Linked DNA regions of Homo sapiens: region 1 is linked to region 2. The links are contacts of gene promoters, found by promoter capture Hi-C in blood cells and fetal thymus (Javierre and others, 2016). All regions are on one chromosome and are shown on one strand. The core of a region is centred on a gene start or on the middle of the fragment in contact, and the rest is flanking DNA. Distances in the headings are between cores, read along the strand shown.

The links. The method cuts DNA at HindIII sites, captures the fragments that hold promoters and counts their contacts. A CHiCAGO score of 5 or more calls a contact.
Region 1: a fragment that was not itself captured here is called in contact with the fragment with the promoter of TULP4 in region 2 in 1 of 17 cell types (endothelial precursors); the score reaches 5.2 in endothelial precursors.

The regions. Positions count from the first base shown.
Region 1 is chr6:158,601,879-158,606,562 of GRCh38, forward strand. It overlaps TMEM181 (transmembrane protein 181), which reads left to right. Exons shown (of 17, transcript NM_001376852.1): 7 at 3,389-3,469. Among named protein-coding and RNA genes, the nearest start is that of MIR7161, 5.5 kb to the right of the region's middle. The HindIII fragment of the contact is 1,211 bases long and covers 1,678-2,888 here.
Region 2 is chr6:158,309,731-158,314,816 of GRCh38, forward strand. It overlaps TULP4 (TUB like protein 4), which reads left to right and starts at 2,735. Exons shown (of 14, transcript NM_020245.5): 1 at 2,735-4,538. The coding sequence starts at 4,287. RefSeq lists an enhancer at 4,359-4,438. The HindIII fragment of the contact is 1,254 bases long and covers 1,788-3,041 here.

The DNA of each region.
Region 1 (4,684 bases), core at 1,033-3,532, 290 kb after region 2:
TTAATGGCAGGAGCTGGAATTTGAACCTGAATCACTGTGATCTCCACTTGCCCATTACCATCTATTGTTAGTGGTTGGTTTTTGTTTGGCAGCTTTATTGAGGTATAGTTGACACACAGTGAAACCTGGGAAGCCGTTCCCACAATCAAGATCATAAGCATCCCCTCACCAGCCATCACCCCTAAACATCTTCTTGTGCCCCTTCCTCCTGTCCTTTCCCATCCCTGGGAAGTCACTGATCTGTTATTTGCATTTTTTTGAGAATTTTATGTAACTGGAATTATACAATATGTACTTCTCCAATATGAATTGTTTCACGTAGCATAATTATTTTGAGCTTGATCGATGATGAGTGTGTCCATAGTGATATTCTAGTATAAATGTAACAGAAATTGTTTATTCATTCACCTGTTGATGGACATTTGAATTACTTCCAGTTTGGGGCTGTCACAAAGAAAGCAGCGATGAACATCTGTGTATAAAGCTTTGTGTGGACATATGCTTTCATTTCTCTTGGATAAATGCTAGAAATGGAATGGTTGGGCCATGTGGTTAAGAAACTCACAAACTGTTCTGCAGAGTGGTTGTGTTACTTTATGTTACACCAGTAGCGTGTGAGGGTTTCAGTTACTTCATATCCCGTCAATGCTCGGTACGGTCAGTCTTTTGAATTTTGGCTGTTCTAATCGGTGTATAATGGTATTTAATGGTTTTACATTGCAGTTTTAATTTATGTACTTTTTTTTTTTTGAGATGGGACCTTGCTCTGTCGCCTAGGCTAGAGTGCAGTGAGATGATCATGGCTCACTGACCCTGGCCTCCTGAGTAGCTGTGAATACAGGCGCACGCCACCATGCTGGCTAATTTTTTTATTTTTTATTTTTGTAGAGACAGGATCTTGCTCTGTTGACCAGGCTCACCTCAAACTCCTGGCCTCAAACTAGCCTCCCACCTCAGCCTCCCAAAGTGTTGGGATTACAGGTGTGAGCCACTGCACCTGGCCTAATTTACATACTTTGAAAATGTTGGTCACTGTCTTCCGGCTTGCATTTTTCTGACAAGAAATCTGATGTCCACCTTATCTTTGTCCTTATCTTCGTCTAATGTAATAATGTTCTTCCCTCTCCCCACCCCCTTTTAAGATTTTTCTCTCACGGTGCTTCTTGTACTTTTCCTCGTTTCTTGTGCTTGGCCATTGAGCTTCTTGGATTTGTGAGTTGATAGTTTTCATCAAATCGGAAACATTTTGGCCATTATCTCTTCAAATACTTTTTTTGTCCTTCTGGTCCCCTGACCTCCCAAATTCAGGAACCCCAAATTAGGCCAGTAGGCCAGTGGTCCCCAGCCTTTTTGGCATCGGGGACTGGTTTTGTGGAAGACAATTTTTCCATGGACCAGGGTTGGTTGGGGATGATTTGGGGACGACTCAAGGGCATTTCATTTATCATTAGATTCTCGTAAGGAGCGTGCAGCCTAGATCCCTCGCCTGCACAGTTGACAGCAGGTTCGTGCTTCTGTGAGAATCTAATGCCCTGGCCGACCTGAAGAGCTCAGGCGGTAATGCTCGCTGGCCCACTGCTCATCTGCTGCTGTATGGCCCGGTTGCTGACAGGCCACGTGGCCAGTATTGGTCTGTGGCCTGGGGACCCCTGTATTAGGCCACTTGAAGTTGTCCAAAGCTTCCCGATGCTATGTTGATTTTTTTTCAGGTTTTTTTTTTTTTTTTTTTAGTTTTATTTTAGATAGCTTCTATTGCTGTGCCTTCACATTTACCAATCTCTGTCGTGTCTAATCTGTTGATCATCTTCCAAGTCTTTATTTAACACAAAAATCTTTCATCTAGCTGCTTTATTTCCTTATCTGCTAATTTTGTCATCTGTGATTTCTGGGCCAGTTTTGATTCGTTGTTTTTTTCCTCATATGGTTTGTATTTTCCTGCTTTTTGGTGTGTCTGGTACTTTTGGTTCAATGCCAGACATTATTGATTGCTAGGTTTTATATCTTATAAATATCCCTGAGCTTTGTTCTGGGACGTTGTTAATTTCCTTGGAAATGGTTTGATCTTTTCTGGCCTTGCTTTTCAACATTGCTAGGTGGGGCCAAAGCAGCATGAAGTCTTGAGGCTTATTTTTTCCTAACGCTGAGGCAAAAGCATTCAGCATATGCTACCCAATGCCCTTTGATGGTGAGTTTCTTCTCTGTCTTGTGGGTGCCAGGCACTGGCTTTTTGGGAGGTTCGTTCTCTCTCTGTACAGCTCTCCTTTCCAGCACTCTGTCCTGTGGATTCGGGCCAGCCCTGTCTCCCTGGACTCCCAGCCGTGGCTCTGCCTGGGTTCCCCTCCATGATGTGGGGCCACCAGGGGCACCCCTTGTTGTTTCCCATCAGTCAGAGGTTACTACCCTTCATTGCTTCCTCAGGTCCAGTGTCTTAAATCATCCTTGTGCATGCGTGCATGCGTGTGTGTGTGTGTGTGCGTGATGTTTTAGGTAAATCTGTAACTCTATTTGTACTGAAGTGGATTTTTTAAATTGCTCAGATGACTTTAATTCAATGCATCAGAATGATGGGGCTCTCTGGCCCTGTGAGCACAGTGTTCTGGGGTCTGGTTATGGACCTGGCTCGTGCTTAGGTTGGTGGTGGCTAGCCTCTGCTCTGCTGTCAGCAGCAGTGCCCCTGTCCTCGGCTCCATCAGTGCACACTTGGCACACGTGGGACTGTCCAGTCAGCATGAGAACGGACTCCTTCAACTGCAGCTCACTCTTCTGCTTTCACATTCATACTTAAAGGTTTTACTTAAACTTTGTAACAACATTCTAGTTGCACTTTTACATCTTTTAAAACTTTCTTTTGATGGAAAGTATGACTATTTCTAATAAAGAGATTGACAAGCTTGATTTTTGATGTGAGATATAAGATCCGAATGCTTTTATGATTATAAAATAATTTGTCGGATTTATCCATGTAACAACATTTGAAATTATTTTTCGCTCTTGGTAATTAAGATTTTTTTATGTCTGTGTCCTTTGATAAAAAAGTAAACTGTACTAAATGTTAAAATTTTGGAACATGTAGGATGTTCCAAAATTTTAACCTGCATGGTGGCAGGCACCTGTAATCCCAGCTACTCAGGAGGCTGAGGTAGGAGAAGTGATTGAACCTGGGAGGCGGAGGTTGCAGTGAGCGAAGATTGCGCCACTTCACTCCGGCCTGGGCGATAGAGCGAGACTCCATATCCAAAAAAAAAAAAAAAAAGTGTGTGTGTGTGTGTGTGTGTGTGTGTATGTGTATATATTGTCTCATCTAGAGATAACTATTAGTAATCTGGTGTATTTTCTCTTAGATGCATATATATTTTTTTCAAATTGTTTTCTCCACTTTCTATTTTAGTGGAAGACTTATAACCCTGCCTTCTCCCGGTTGGAAATCTGGTTCCGGTTTTTCTTTGTGGTGCTCACCTTCATCGTCACTGTGAGTACCATTCGCCTGATGGACCGCAGCAGATCCCAGCCAGGAAGAAGCTGGTTTATGCAGTTAGGATCTTCGGTGCAAGCCACATGGAGATTGATCTGAACTCAGATGCTCCATCCAGTGGGCTGTGCTGATATTACAACTCTGTGTGTCTGCCGAGATGCTGCCGTGCAAGAAAAAATGATGTGGTATCATGTATTCAGGATTTCTGTAGAGTGCACGTCCGTGACTTTTAAGTAAATGTTGATCATGTGCGGTGAAAAGTGCCATTTCACCTGTGTGGAAGGAAGCTGCCTTACTTGAATGAGCTTCTCTGAGTGCAGATGCAGCATGCTCTTGGGTTTTTATATTTTATATTTTTATAGTTGTGCCAGTCCTTTGCGTTTTTGGGCATTTTCAGGAATAAGGCCAAAGAGAAGTGTTTTGGAAATGCAGGCATTGGGCTCGTTTGGGATCTGAGGTTTGTGTCCACAAACCCACATGACTTTGGGGGAAATGCTTACCCTGAGAAGCCCAAGGGAGCCCCCCCAGAGCCCCAGTCTGCAAAGATAAGAATTGGTAAATTGGAGGAAGGGAAAGTGTGCTTCATTTAGTGATCTGTTGCCGCCCGAAGTGTGGCGTTCTGCCTGCATCAGCTGCTTGTCCTTGTGCGGGATGGTGGGGAGGTGACATTTAGGAAATGTGTCCACCCAGGAACACTTGGTATTTTTCAGAGTAACTGTGCATGGAAGGACACAGGCGCGTGCACATGTGAGGGGGTGCTCTGCTGGAGCGAAGGGCGTGGGCGCTAGAGCCACAGGGAGCTGGAGGGAAGGGCGTGGGCGCTAGAGCCACAGGGAGCTGGAGGGAGGGGCGTGGGCGCTAGAGCCACAGGGAGCTGGAGGGAAGGGCGTGGGCGCTAGAGCCACAGGGAGCTGGAGGGAAGGGCGTGGGCGCTAGAGCCACAGGGAGCTGCAGGTTGTGGTGCTTACGCCCAGCCCAGGGCCTCCAGGATCTCAGGGCTCCCGCAGTGAGCTTCATAAATGAAAGTAGAAAGCTGTTATTTGTGTCTGGGCAGCCAGAAACACTTGCTTCTTCTCAAAGGCTCTCTGATGCCCTGAGATTCTCCTGCCACACTCTGGAGTCCAAAGAGCTATTTATTACTCAGGGCCCCAAGTATGTTCTTAAAAAGAGGGAAGATGGTCCCTAGGCAAGGAAACCCACATTGCCTAGAAA
Region 2 (5,086 bases), core at 1,485-3,984:
AAATACGAAAACCAGTCAGGCGTGGCGGCGCGCCTGCAATCGCAGGCACTCGGCAGGCCGAGGCAGGAGAATCAGGCAGGGAGGTTGCAGTGAGCCGAGATGGCAGAAGTACAGTCCAGCTTCGGCTTGGCATCAGAGGGAGACCGTGGGAAGAGAGGGAGAGGGAGACCGTGGGGAGAGGGAGAGGGGGAGGGGGAGGGGGAGAGGGAGAGGGAGCTCAGTTTTTATTTTCAACAACAAATTCTGTTAGTTGTTTTCCTTAAAGTGGCAGGCTTACTTTGTTCATGTTCAAGAAAATGTCGGCCAAATATCCCAGCTGGAACAACCATAATTTGTCATTCATACTTTTTAGTAAACTTGGGGTATTAGCCCATTTGCATTACTATAAGGAATACCTGAGACTGGGTAATTTATAAAGAAAATTGTTTTAATTGGCTCATGGCTCTGCAGGCTTTACAGGAAGCATGGTGCTGGCATCTGTTTCTGGTGAGGCCTCAGGAAGCTTACAAACATGGCAGAAGGTGACAAGGAACTAGCATGTCACATAGCTAGAGCGGGAGCAGCAAGAGAGGTGGGAGGTGCTACACTTTTTTTTTTTTTTTTTTTTTGAGACGGAGTTTTTCTCTTTCGCCCAGGCTGGAGTGCAGTGGTGCGATCTTGGCTCACCGCAACCTCTGCCTTTCGGTTTCAAGCAATTCTTCTGCCTCAGCCTCCTGAGTAGTTGGGATTACAGGTGCCCACCACCATGCTCAGGTAATTTTTGTATTTTTAGTAGAGACAGGGTTTCACCATGTTGGCCAGGCTGGTCTCGAACTCCTGGTGCTACATTCTTTTAAACAACCAGGTATCGTGAGAGTTCACTCACTGTCAGAAGACAGCACCAAGACATTCATGAGGGACTGCCCCCATGATCCAAACACCTCCCACCAGGCCCCACCTCTAACACTGGGGGTTACGTTTCAGCATGAGATTTGGAGGGGCCAAACATTCAAACCATGTCACATGGTATTCCATGAAAAAAGCAAGCAGTTCATTTTGCAACTTAAACTGTATAATACATGCTTTTTCCTGGGACTACCATGGTGCTTCAGTAGTCCACAGAAGTACTTTATGTGTACCTACTATTTTGGGACACAAGGGTATTAAAAACCATGTACTCAAGGGCTGATATTTAATAAAATTAATAATTTTTACTGCCGTATCAAAGATGTTCTTAAGTGAGGCTGGCTTTTTTTTTCTTTCTTTTTTTTAATCTATGACTACTGGTGCAGTTGGTACCTCTACCTTGATTAGTGTTAAAGAGCTTGCAGTTTGACCCACTGTTGATTTTGCACCATGGGTACAAATGTGAACACGGAAGAAGGCAAATTATGTCCTAGTATTATGATGAAAGTAGAGTCTTTTGCTGGGACTTGATGCTACAGGCCAGTAGTTCTCAAAGCCTGGTTCCCTGCCCAGCAGCATTAGCATCTCTTGGGAGCTTATTAGAAATGCGAACACCTGGGCCCTTCCCTTCCCTTTCAGTGTCCAGTTCCTGTGGGATGGGGCTGGGCCGCTTCAGCTGCCCCAGGAGACTGAGAGAGTCTGCTGAATTTGAGAAAGTCCACTCTGCTTTCTGGAAGGACTGGCGGGGCGGGAGGGCAGGGAGGATGAGTAAGTTAGGGACAGAGTGTTCTCGTGTTTGTAGAGGATGTGATGCAGCCTGGACTTCAGGCAGTAGGAAGAAGATGGAATGGATTTGCTAGAGACAGATTCTCTAGAACTTTATTGCTGGTAGACCACATAAAAGCTTAGAAAACAGCTGCGCTTTGCTCCGAGACCTGCCAGCCATCAGGGACGAATGAGTTTTAAAGGCCCTTACTGCTTTGTGTCTTGAGGGAATATCTTTTATTAATCGTGAAAAAATCAATCCAGATAACTTGCCTGAGTCATTTCAGTCTCCTTTTTGAGGATGCCTGCTTAAACAGCGACCATGGTCTCTGGAGGGGTAGAGTCTCACATTCGGAGTTCAGTCTCTTAGAAAGTACAGTTCAGTGTGGAAGAATGGCAGTTATGATTTCATTCAGATGTGCCCAGCTGCTGACAAATTGAATACAACGATCAGTGGCAGGCAGAACTCTCATTTGTTGTGTGTTGTCTTGAGTCTGGTGAGGTGTATCCTTTCACTATTGGATTTTACCATTCAGTGCAGTCAGTAGCTCCATTTGATGTAAGTGTAAAGATGGGTCTCTCATTTCAGTTTCAGCAATTATTCTTAAAACCTTTATTTTCCAGTGTTTTAAAGTTTTTAAATTTTATATCTTTTTTTTTTTTTAAACAGATTTGTAAGACTCCAGGGCCTCCCAGCCGTGAATAATCTGATGGTTCCTGAAATGACTGGGGAAGCAGACGCTTCGTATGGCAGTTGAAGAGTGTGTGTCTATGTGCATTTAAAACCTTCTTTCTGTACTTACACATTCACACGGGAAGACAGGCTCATTCTTGTGCACACTTGAGAGTTTTACAACTGATGAAAATTAATTTAAGAATCAGATGGAGCAACTTGACACCAGTGGGCTCAGGAGCCCGGGGAGAAAAATACATCACTAATGGCCAGTTTTCCATATGGTCTGCACGGGTAAAGAAAGTCTGCAAAAAGAAGAAAAAAAAATTTGCGCAGATTAAACCACAAAAATATTCTCCAGTTTAAAGAAGGAACTAAGTGAGAAGGTGACTGAGAAAGAAGTGTGATTTCAAACATTGCAGCGGCTCACACAGTGTTTGTTGCACTTTATTTTTCAGTGGGTTTGGTGATTTGGACGGATTAAAATTCTAGACTGAAAAGTAACTCCTACTGTGGTTATGGCTAGAGGAAAGCAAGTTCAAGTATGATGGGACAAGTTTGAATAATGAACTGATTCCTTTGCCTATCTTAATTAACTGTATTTGAGAAATTTTAATTTATTATTCCCCCCCTTTTTTCCTGCATCTATAGGATAATATTGTAAAATAGCAATTGAAACCAATAATTATTAAATAAATATCAAGGAAAATCCAAGCAAAGCTTTCTTTTTGTTGGACTAGTGGTGTGGTGTTTGGAGACAGTCTCTGAATGTGAACAGGAAAGCACCCATCAGCAAAACACTATCACTCTCTAGGGAGACAGCTGGGGGAATCTGACTCTGGCTTCTGCTTTTGTTTTAAGGGATTAACTTCCCTGTCAAGTCCAAGAAGACTTGCGTATGAGAAGATTACCTGATGGACTTAATTCTAAGATTAGCTTTTTTCATCAAGATGGAAAAAGATCTTTAGGAGCAGAAAAGGGGAGTGCTAACTGGGGGAGCGAGAAGGGAGACGAGCAAAAGAAACAAAATCTTGCCACGTGGCTCTGTTTTGTCAGCAAGAGGATTTAAGACTCACCCAGGGCAAACACTGGGACCACTGTAAGAGCGCTGGAACATTCTGCCTCTTGAGTGAAGGGGCCTTCTTTCTAGCCTCTATGGCACTGAGGGGTGCGCCGGCTGGTGGAGGAGCAGTCCGATGGAGCCCTGCGTTCCCCGGGGACACAGGGCCAAGCTTTGAGGTGGAAAGTTTCTGGTTCTGAAACAACAAGGAGAGAGTCTGTTTTTCTTCCTAAAATTTGGACTCTTGTCTGCACAAACTCTGGTCTGTTTTGCACGGTTTGTGTGCCTTTTTTTCCCTTTATGCAATCTTTTTCAGCTTTAGCAGCAGAAATTTGTCTAGTTCAGGAAACATGCTAGAGGGTGGCTTCAGAAGGAAGATGATCCTGTGTATTCTGTCTCTGCATCCGAACTTTTGAAGAGAAAAATTCGAGCTAGAGGGATTCTTAAAGCCTTAAGTTACTTGAAATCTATGTATTTGCAACCCTTTGTCTCTGGAATCATATTACACTAAACTGGAATCTCAGGCTGAATGAGAATAACCAAGTGGAGTAAAAAGAAGAAAACCGTTTCTTGATCACCACTTAATTAACGATGCTCTTTCTCCAAAGGATCAGCACGTTCTTCCTCTGAGAACTTGAAAATACAAATGGACCCCATGTTTTTTTAAGCATTACCTTTTCTTAGAAGACTGCCATCATCTTTTATAGAGGAATTTTTTCACTATGCATTCGGTGGATCTTTATAAAATACTGACCTTCTAATTAGATTCAGGTCAGTCTTAATTAAAGGGGGAAAAAAGCAACGCAAGCCAACCACAAAAACACATATACCAATGAAAGAAATTGGTTTAAATTTCACAGCATTAACATTACTTTTTAAGTAAAACAGTTCATTGAAGAAAGTATGTATGCAGCAGTGGAACATGGGCCTGTGCTTTGCAGCGATTCCAACATCCTGTGCCTGTCCTGGAAGGGGCGTGTCCCCAAGAGTGAGAAGGAGAAGCCTGTGTGCAGGAGACGCTACTATGAGGAAGGCTGGCTGGCCACGGGCAACGGGCGAGGAGTGGTTGGGGTGACTTTCACCTCTAGTCACTGTCGCAGGGACAGGAGTACTCCACAGAGGATAAATTTCAACCTCCGGGGCCACAATAGCGAGGTGAGCTGTGGTTTTGTTTCACTTTTTGGTCACTTCCAGTGGTGTTTTTGAGCCCCTTGTGGACTTGAAACTTCCTTCATTTCAGTTTCATAGACTTGCTGCCTAGTGAGACTTCCCATGCTGTGAGTTCTGTCTCTTATTCTCTGGCAGAAAAGATGCTAAGATGGACATAGTTCACAGTAGGCTGCGCCTCCCCAGGTGGGTCAGTTGTCCCTGGCACCCCTGCTGTCCTCTCCCTGCACTGTCTCTCTTAGAGGGTCCGGGCAGTGGGAAGACGCCCAGCAGTAGGGAGGCCAGGGCGCTTTCTAACCAGGGTGGGGGGTTAAATTAGATGATCCTAACCAACTTTTCGTGCTCCAAGTCTACATGGCAAAGAGTTACCCCCACCCCTGATGTCCCACTGACAGTGTGAAAAATGAAAGTGGTGCTGCCTTTACCTTGCACGGTTAACATCTACGTTCCTTTGGTGATGGCTTAACACTTGGCTTGTATGTTTTCGTACTTGGAGGTAAAGAAGTAGTTAATGGACAAAAACCATAGTTTTTCAC